Linked DNA regions of Homo sapiens: regions 2 and 3 are each linked to region 1. Evidence: promoter capture Hi-C in human tissues and cell types (Jung and others, 2019). All regions are on one chromosome and are shown on one strand. The core of a region is centred on a gene start or on the middle of the fragment in contact, and the rest is flanking DNA. Distances in the headings are between cores, read along the strand shown.

Region 1 (3,203 bases), core at 704-3,203:
GTATTTTTAGTAGAGACGGGGTTTCACCACCTTGTGCAGGCTGGTCTTGAACTCCTGACTTCGTGATCCACCTGCCTCGGCCTCCCAAAGTGCTGGAATTACAGGCGTGAGCCACCGCACCCAGCTCGAGTCTTTATTTTTGAGGGATTAAGTGAAAGATCCTTGGTGTCAAGGAGTGTCTGTTGTACGAAACTGGAAAGTAGAGAGACTTACAGAACAGGCTTCTACAAAATATGAGGATTTCAGATGCATGAGAAAGTGGATGAAGGGCAGTTAGGAGACTGAGTTTACAGATCTAAAGGAGCATAACCTTTTTTTTAAGTCAGGCGAGGTGAGCGCTGGTGGCAATGAATCTGGTTTTTATTTTGTGTTTTAGCTCAGAATCATTGTGGGCTGTAACGAGAGATACACAACATGATTAAGGAAAATGTTAGACTAGATTAATAGGTGGGAGAAATAGAAGAGATTCTCAAAGTGGCTTTCCCCACACACCAAAGGACACAAGAAGTTTTCAGAATCTCTAGAAACTATGTTCATTTATAAAATGGGATTAATCCATACCAATATATACATTAGAGTTCTGTGGTTAGAATCCTAGAGTCCAGCATTTATTTACAAAGTGGCAATAAATGTAAAATAACCTAGAAACTTCTTCTACAAAACGAACACTCAAATTGATAATATTCTGAGAAATATCACACATTCTGCAAGAAAAAACCACCATCTTACAAAACACTGCGTACTGTGATAGCACCTAGTATTTGGTGGGCTTTCTAAACCCTGACCAAATATACCGCCTCATTTAATCAATGCACTTAAAAAAAAAAAGCCTAAGTATAACTTATTTTCTGGTGCTAACCACAATTTTTAAAAAGTGTATTTCAAGTTGGTGCTTCCGTTCCAAGTAAACCAAGTTTCATTTCTTATGCAAACTTCCGGTTGAAGGTAGGATTCGTTCTCTTGGACTGCCACACCCAAAAGTTCTCACCACTGGACAAAGACAATTAGCTGTGAGGGCTGACTTGCCAGTAAAGCCTCGCTTTTGAAAATAGAGTGCTTTTCTGATTACCGTTTATTAGAGCCCTTCCAGAACATGAAACAAATACCAATAATTTTAAGAAATATTCGCTTTATTCGCCTTTAAATATGAAACTTTTTGCACTTAAGTTAAAATCTCTGCTAAATCCATAGGTCTCTCAAGAACTGACAGATACATTCATATACCTACTAAACTACTTTAAAAAGAAGACACTTCCATGGCGAATTGAATTAGCCCAAACTTTCCCCCCAAATGGGACAAGGTATTACATTTTGGAGTTTTTCTTCGAGTCACAAACTAAACTCCAGATCTCTCTGTCCAAAATTTCATCGCTTAAAGAAAAAAAGTTCTAATTACAGGAGCGGATACTGAGCTGAAGAACTTCCCAATTTGAGTTGGTTATTCCTACTAAACGCAGCCACACAGCTGCAACAACAGCTGCAGCAGGGGGACAACGGGCTACGTTTTTGCGCAAACCCTCTTGAATCGGGCAAGTTGACGTTAGAAACTAAAATAGTCCCGGAGTCAGCTCTGCAGGGGTCGGGTTTCGCGGGCCCGGCAGTCGCCCAAGCTCAAGGCGCCAGTGAGCGAAGCCACATTTCCAGAGTTCCAAGTTTGGGCACAGGAGCGAAGTTCGGGTCTGGGCCACTCCAAGCCATGGCCTCGGATCCCAGAACCGGGGACCTGGCTGGCACACCTGCCCAGGTGCGCTACCGGCGCCAGGAGCCCCGCCGCCCTCCAGCTGCCCCCGCGGAGACGGGTCCCCGGGATGGGTCTCACGCGCCCGAACGCGAGCGCCACTCACCCGGCACAGCTACGAGAATCCGAGCACCTCTCCGAGCCCCTCGCTGCCGCTATCACACCACCCTGCTACCCAGAGAGCCGCTAAAAACCACCGCTTCCGGCCTCTGCTTAGCAAGCCGGAAGGAAGCCCGGTCACCTTTCTTGGCCCGCAGAGTGGGTCTGACTTCACGGAGGGGCGACAGAGAGGGAAGTCGCCAGTGTGGTCAGCGGGCGTGGTATTGACCAAGTGCATGAGAAGGAAGTGTAAAGTGGGCGACCTAGAATATAGAGCAATATATAATGGTCCTCTGGGTCCTGTTACTGAGTTTCCTTCTTTTTTGTACCTGTTGTTGCAGTGTTAAGTCTTCCTCCCCCCTATCCTTTCCGCAGATGGTTGCGTCCGTCCTGTGGCTTTGCCTGGCCGCACATTCCAGGGCACGGCGAAGGGCGGGGCCCGTCGGCCCAAGTCCTTGTAGGGAAATCGAGGAGAGGGCTGCGGGCCCACGTGACTGACCCTCGCCCCGCCCCGAAGCCGGGCTCCAGCTTGTGGGCGGTAGTGCGCCTGCGCTTGACGCCCCGCGCGGGGTCTGGGTCTCCGCCTGAGGGCCCCGGAGCAGTGCGCGTATCCCGGGAGCGGATCTTGATGCTAGCTCTGTGTGCAGTGTAATTTTATTAAGAGTCCCGCCCCCTCCATACGGGAGGAAACGTGTGTCCCTGGGGCCCTCAGCCAAGCCTCCACTATCTTTTTGGCCCAGACGGATTTCCCAGGTCACAAGTGGCTGGAGACTTCCTCTTGAAAAACATTTGCCGTCGTTTTTCCCTGGCAGAGCCCCTTTGACCCTGGCTAACAAGGACAGCCTGACTTGGATCCCACTATGCAGGAAGGAAGGCGACTCTTCCCCGCACCTCTTGCTACGATTAGGACTTGCGACTTGGTGAAAACAGGAATCAAAACTTGGGCCTATTTCTCCTGAGGTCTGCTTGCCTAGAACAATTCGTAACGATGAATCTTATTAAAAAGAGAAAGTCCTCCCCGACTTTATCTTTTTCCGCCCAGAATCCGATAAGGAAGACTTGTTCTGGCCCCCTCAGCTCTCTGACCTCACCTACCAGAGGAGAGAGTGGGATCCTCTAACACTCGAGCCGTCATCCCAGCACTAGGGGACAGTGACCAGTGTGGCTCCCGTGGCCAGAACCCTTCTGAAGTTTGGGTTGCCCTGTGGTCTTCGCCTTCAAAGCAGGCCGCCACTTGAATCCTTCTGGAACGGACAGTGTTGCTGTAAACGCCGCGGAATAGTATCTTCTAAGTATTCGTAGCTTCTTTCTTGAGGGATCTCGGGAACGTTCCGTGTATTAACCACTAACGTATTCCAAAGTTAAC
Region 2 (3,203 bases), core at 222-2,721, 450 kb before region 1:
GGTCAAGAGACAGAGACCATCCTGGCTAAAACGGTGAAACCCCGTCTTTACCAAAAGTACAAAAAATTAGCCGGGCGTGGTGGTGGGCGCCTGTAGTCCCAGCTACTCGGGAGGCTGAGGCAGGAGAATGGCGTGAACCTGGGAGGTAGAGCTTGCAGTGAGCTGAGATCACACCACTGCACTCCAGCCTGGGCAACAGACAGAGACTCTGTCTCAAAAAACAATTAAAATTTTAAAAAAATAAAATAAAATGCTAGGTGGCTGGCAAGATGGCTGAATAGGAACAGCTCCAGTCTGCAGCTCCCAGTGAGATCAACACAGAAGGCAGGTGATTTCTGCATTTCCAGCTGAGGTACACGGCCCATCTCACTGGGACTGGTTAGATAGTGGGTATAGCCCACAGAGGGCGAGCTGAAGCAGGGTGGGGTTTTGCCTTACTCGGGAAGCACAAGGGGTTGAGGAACTTCCTCCCCTAGCCGAAGGAAGCCTTGAGGGACTGTGCTGTGAGGAACAGTGCGTTCCGGCTCAGATACTATGCTTTTCCCATGGTCTTCACAGCCCGCAAACCAGGAGATTCCCTTGGGTGCCTACACCACCAGGGCCCTGGGTTTCAAGCACAAAAACTGGGTGGCTATTTAGACAGACACCTAGCTAGCTGCGGGAGTTTTTTCATACCCCAGTGGTGCCTGGAACACCAGCGAGACAGAATCTTTCACTACCCTGGAAAGGGGGCTGAAGCCAGGGAGCCAAGTGGTCTAGCTCAGCGGATCCCACCCCCAGAGAGCCTAGCAAGCTAAGATCCACTGGCTTGAAATTCTCATTGCCAGAACAGCAGCCTGAAGTCCACCTGGGACGCTTGAGCTTGGTCAGGGGCGGGGCGTCCACCATTGCTGAGGCTTGAGTAGGCAGTTTTCCCTTCACAGTGTAAACAAAGCCATGGGGAAGTTTGAACCGCAGCTCAGCAAAGCCACTGTAGCCAGACTGCCTCTCTAGCTTCCTCCTCTCTGGGCAGGGCATCTCTGAAAGAAACGCAGCAGCCCCAGTCAGGGGCCTATAAGTAAAACTCCCATCTCCCTGGGACAGAGCACCTGGGGGAAGGGGCAGCTATGGAGACAGCTTCAGCAGGCTTAAACGTTTCTGTCTGACAGCTCTGAAGAGAGCAGTGGATCTCCCAGCACAGTGCTCAAGCTCTGCTAAGGGACACTCTGCTTCCTCAAGTGGGTCCCTGACCCCCATGCCTCCTGACTGGGAGATACCTCCCAGCAGGAGTCAACAGACACCACATACAGGAGAGCTCTGGCTGTCATCTGGCAGATGCCCCTCTGGGATGAAGCTTCCAGAGGAAAGAACAGCAATCTTTGCTGTTCTGCAGCCTCCGCTGGTGATACCCAGGCAACAGGATCTGGAGCGGACCTCCAGAAAACTCCAGCAGACCTACAGCAGAGGGCAGGTTAGAAGGAAAACTAACAAACAGAAAGGAATAGCATCAACATCAACAAAAAGGACATCCACACAAAAACCCCATCTGAAAGTCACCAACATCAAAGACCAAAGGTAGATAAATCCACGAAGATGAGGAAAAACCAGTGCAAAAAGGCTGAAAATTCCGAAAACCAGAATGCCTCTTCTCCTCCAAAGGATCACAACTCCTCGCCAGCAAGGGAACAAAACTGGATGGAGAATGAGTTTGACGAATTGATGGAAGTAGGCTTCAGAAGTTGGGTAATAACAAACTCCTCCGAGCAAAAGGAGCGTGTTCTAACCCAATGCAAGGAAGCTAAGAACCTTGAAAAAAGGTTAGAGGAATTGATAGCTAGAATAACCAGATTAGAGAAGAACATAAATGACCTGATGTAGCTGAGAAACACAGCACGAGGACTTCGTGAAGCATACACAAGTATCAATAGCCAAATCGATCAAGCGGAAGAAAGGATATCAGAGATTGAAGATCAACTTAATGAAATAAAGCATGAAGACAAGATTAGAGAAGAAAGAATGAAAAGGAATGAACAAAGCCTCCAAGAAATATGGGACTATGTGAAAAGACCAAACTTATGTTTGATTGGTGTACCTGAAAGTGATGGGGAGAAAGGAACCAAGTTGGAAAACGTTCTTCAGGATATTACCCAGGAGAACTTCCCTAACCTAGCAAGACAGGCCAACATTCAAATTCAGGAAATACAGAGAACACTACAAAGATACTCCTCAAGAAGAGCAACCCCAAGACACATAATCATCAGAGAGAAAGGTCGGGTTACCCACAAAGGGAAGCCCATCAGACTAACAGCAGATCTCTCTGCAGAAACCCTACAAGCCAGAAGACAGTGGAGGCTAATATTCAACATTCTTAAAGAAAGGAATTTTCAACCCAGAATTTCATATCCAGCCAAACTAAGCTTCTTAAGTGAAGAAGAAATAAAATCCTTTACAGACAAGCAAATGCTGAGAGATTTTTGTCACCACCAGGCCTGCCTTACAAGAGCTCCTGGAGGAAGCACTAAAGATGGAAAGGAAAAACCAGTACCAGCCACTGCAGAAACATATCAAATTGTAAAGACCATTGACACTATGAAGAAACTGCTTCAACTAATGGGCAAAATAACCAGGAAACATCATAATGACAGGATCAAATTCACACAAACAGTATTAACCTTAAATTTGAACAGGCTAAATGCCCCAATTAAAAGACACAGAGTGGCAAATTGGATAAAGAGTCAAGGCCCAGCGGTGTGCTGTATTCAGGAGACCAAACTCATGTGCAAAGACACACATAGGCTCAAAATAAAGGGATGGAGGAATATTTACCAAGCAAATGGAAAGCAAGAAAAAAGCAGGAGTTGCAATCCTAGTCTCTGATAAAACAGACTTTAAGCCAATAAAGATCAAAAAAGACTAAGAAGGGCATTACATAATGGTTAAGGAGTCAATGCAACAAGAAGAGCTAACTATCCTAAATATATATGCATCTAATATAGGAGCACCCAGATTCATAAAGCAAGTTCTTAGAGACCTACAAAGAGACTTAGGCTTCCACACAATAATAGTGGGAGACTTAAACACCCCTCTGTCAATATTAGACAGATCAATGAGACAGAAAATTAACAAGGAAATTCAGGACTTGGTCTATTAGGACCAAGTGGACCTAATAGACATCTACGGAACTCTCCCACTCTGAATCAACAGAATATACATTCTTCTCAGCA
Region 3 (3,203 bases), core at 406-2,905, 350 kb after region 1:
GCAGTGAGCCAAGATCACGCCACTGCACTCCAGCCCCAGCAACAAAGGGAGACTCCATCTCAAAAACAATTATATATATTTATTTATTCATTATATATATGCAATATATACATATGCTATATATATATATGCCCTTAACAGAAGGATATAAAAGAGACTTAGATCTATTTAAGCATCAGCTGAAGGCCCTTCTTCTCCCCTGTTGGCTGCTTCTTGGATAATTCAGCCTCACCTCAGTGATGCTTCCAAAGGAAACAGGATCTGTGAAGAGGGCAACAGGCTGAGTAGAAACACCACAGTGTGTGTTCCCGGTCTGGCGATCTGCTTACTGGTCCAAAACCATCACACATCTTCACCTCTGGATCTGTGCTCACTGTGGTAGATATCATGACCACCATTAATCCCCCTTCCCTCCCCAAACATACCAGCCACGTCACCCTTCAAGAGCAGACCTGCTTTGACAATAGAATGTGGCAGTGATGCCACTCCAGCTCTGGGCTAGCCTGTGGGAGGCCCAGCAGCTTCCACTTTCCCTTGACAGTCGCCATAGTCTGACTACTTGACACCGCCATGCTGTGAGGAAGCCCAGGTTGGCCACATGGAGAGAGGGGCCAGGTGGAGGAGCACCGAGGCACCAGACATATGACTGAGTCTTCACAGACCTTCCAGTCAACCGCAAGCTGAATGCAGCTGAGTGGGCGACTCAAGCTGATGCCACATAGAGCAGAAGAACCGCTGAGCCAAGCCCTGCCGGGGTTCCTGACCTACAGAATAATGGAAACTAATACATCTTTGTTGTTTTAAGCCAGCAAGATTTGGAATGGGTTGTTATAAAGCAATAAATAGCTAATCCACAATGTCCTCCCCTCCTGCTTTCTGAATCCCACCCATCCCTCAATCAGATCCAGTAACACCTCCTCCTGGAAGCTTCTCTCATCTCACCTTATTCCTCACCCCATCAGCCTCTGTACTCTGCTCGGTAAATACCTACACTGAGGGCTCAGCTCAGGGCTCTCTCCTGAGAATCCCTCCCTGACTTCCACTGTGGGTGCTTCTCTGAACACTCAAGGTGGCTCATGCACACCACACCCCATTCCTGTGACCATCTGTCTGCTTGTTTCCCCATCAGACTTTTATCCACATACTCCCCCACACAGCCATTACCTACCACATAATAGGGGCTCAGTAAGAGCTTATGAACTAAAGGGATAAACTGCTATGCCACAAACAATCTCATTCATCTCTCTGCAGACCTGTGAGTCTCTTTCCCACTGTGATTGCAAATGCTTTAGAATAAGGATTATGCCTACTTATCTCCAGGTCCCCCAAGAGCCTTGCACATCGTAGGCACTCAATAAACATTCTGTTGACTTTTAACTGATTGACATGTCACTTTCATTGTGACCTTAGCTCCAGATTCTCCCATGCACCTCTGATACTCAGGTTCCAGGTCTCCTAGACCTGGATGCTAGACAAGGGCAGAGGAGGCTCTGCTTGTTTATTTCTGGCTCTTTTCCAATCAATGAAATTCTCAAAACTCCATGCAGTCTACACTCACCACAATGAGTTCAGTCCAAAGGGATAATGTTTTGTATGGCACATTCTCTTTTAAAAGAATTCACCCCCCAACTCCTACTGCAACAGACAAATGCGAAAATGTTAACACAGCTTCCCACGCCACCAGGGAGTTCCAAATCAACTGGAAATATCTGATTCAACCTGTTATCGTAAGACACAGACCAGACAGCGTTGTCACCACAAGGGACAATCATTCTATGAACACATACATGGTCTTGTGACCTCTACTCAACATTCCAGAGATAGAGGAGCTGAGTGGCCCTGGAGTGGGGGAAGGGCTGGGTTATAAATAGTGAGGTGCAGTGGGCTGGACACTCGGGTGGCGGCCAGATTCCTGGTCCTCCTGGGCCTAGGTGACTCGTCATCTGCAAGATAAGCACAGTGCTCTGGGGACATCCAGGGCATTTTCCCACCTACCTCGGACCCTCTCCACCCTCCTGAGCTGCCAGGACCTGGCCCTGGCTCTCCCTGACCAAGCCAGAGCTCGCCTGCTTCCCACGTTCTAGCCTACGCTGCCTTGGGTTTTATGTCTCATCTGGGACTTGATCATAAAATCCCAAGGTTCACAGAGGCCATGAAATCTCAGTTCCTTGTGCAAGGGCCTGTGTCACCCAGAGCGGAACCAGGTCAGGGAGGTAAAAGTCCCAAAGGCAAGGATGGGAGAAAAGAAAACAGGGAGGGGGAGGTCAGGAATAGGTTCCTTCTAGCACAAAGCAGGCCCCTCAACAAGTCCCCATGGACCAAGTAAGTCTGCACTCAGTTCTGGGAGACACACAGTCATCATGGCTGGACTGCAAGAAAACAATTCTTGGACGCAGCCTGGCCTGGTTTCCATCCTGGCTCCCCCACTGAACAGCCACATGACTTTGGGCACATTTTCCCTGTTGGAAAACAGCCTTTCTGTGAGGCCATGATAGGATTCAGTCCCCCTGAAGTGACCAAGCCAGTGCTGTACATAGAAAGTGTTCAAAAACGCGAGCTCCCTCTTCCTTCCTTTCACGCCCAGACTCCGACTAGAGAGGGCTAGCTTATGTCGGAGGCTGTCTCAGAGTACAAACCCAGGTACAAGAGAAGCTCTGTCCTTTGAGAAGGCTGCGTTTAGCACCCACAAGTAACAAAAAAATCTTATTACATATATTATTCATTCATTCACATTCATTCATTCAACAAACATTTGTTGAGTGCCTAAGGTGTAGCCAGCATTGCTCTCAGCACTACTGCTGAGCTTCCTGGATGCAGGCACTATGGAGCTTTAGATACTTCCTGTCCCTAAACTGCTCTCATCCACGGTCCTGTGTCTGGAAACAAATATGACAGCATCCTATCTGCCATCAGCTAAGCCCTGAAGATGATAACGACACAGATAAAAAGTGATGCTTGAAGAGAGGTACGTAGGAGACTCCCTAGGTAGAAGAGAGGACAACACCCACTGCCCCAAGCTGTTATGCCAAAAATCTGACCCCAACTCTGAGCTCACCAGCCTGATTCTACAGATAATATTTGGCTATCCATCTGTGGGAAGAACCAGTTTTCCTTTTTTATTTTCAATGTGTTGTGAACTGATATTTTTGTAAATTACGTAGATCATGTGCTTAAATACTGCAATGTTGTTTGTTTATTTATTT

What was found. Contacts are between HindIII fragments. The study calls those that stand out against the background at their distance.
Region 2: a contact is called between a fragment that was not itself captured here and the fragment with the promoter of MYL12A in region 1, in 1 of the 25 tissues and cell types used here (dorsolateral prefrontal cortex).
Region 3: a contact is called between a fragment that was not itself captured here and the fragment with the promoter of MYL12A in region 1, in 1 of the 25 tissues and cell types used here (lymphoblastoid cells).

What each region holds. Positions count from the first base shown.
Region 1 is chr18:3,246,551-3,249,753 of GRCh38, reverse strand. MYL12A (myosin light chain 12A) reads right to left here and starts at 1,953. Exons shown (of 4, transcript NM_006471.4): 1 at 1,845-1,953. It also overlaps a transcript of MYOM1 not described here. RefSeq lists enhancers at 815-884, 2,017-2,246 and a silencer at 1,647-1,726. The HindIII fragment of the contact is 15,684 bases long and covers 1-3,203 here.
Region 2 is chr18:3,697,640-3,700,842 of GRCh38, reverse strand. The region is part of intron 7 of DLGAP1 (DLG associated protein 1); the gene reads left to right. Among named protein-coding and RNA genes, the nearest start is that of DLGAP1-AS6, 46 kb to the right of the region's middle. The HindIII fragment of the contact is 3,729 bases long and covers 1-3,203 here.
Region 3 is chr18:2,893,052-2,896,254 of GRCh38, reverse strand. All of the region lies in intron 4 of EMILIN2 (elastin microfibril interfacer 2), which reads right to left. Among named protein-coding and RNA genes, the nearest start is that of EMILIN2, 48 kb to the right of the region's middle. The HindIII fragment of the contact is 6,251 bases long and covers 1-3,203 here.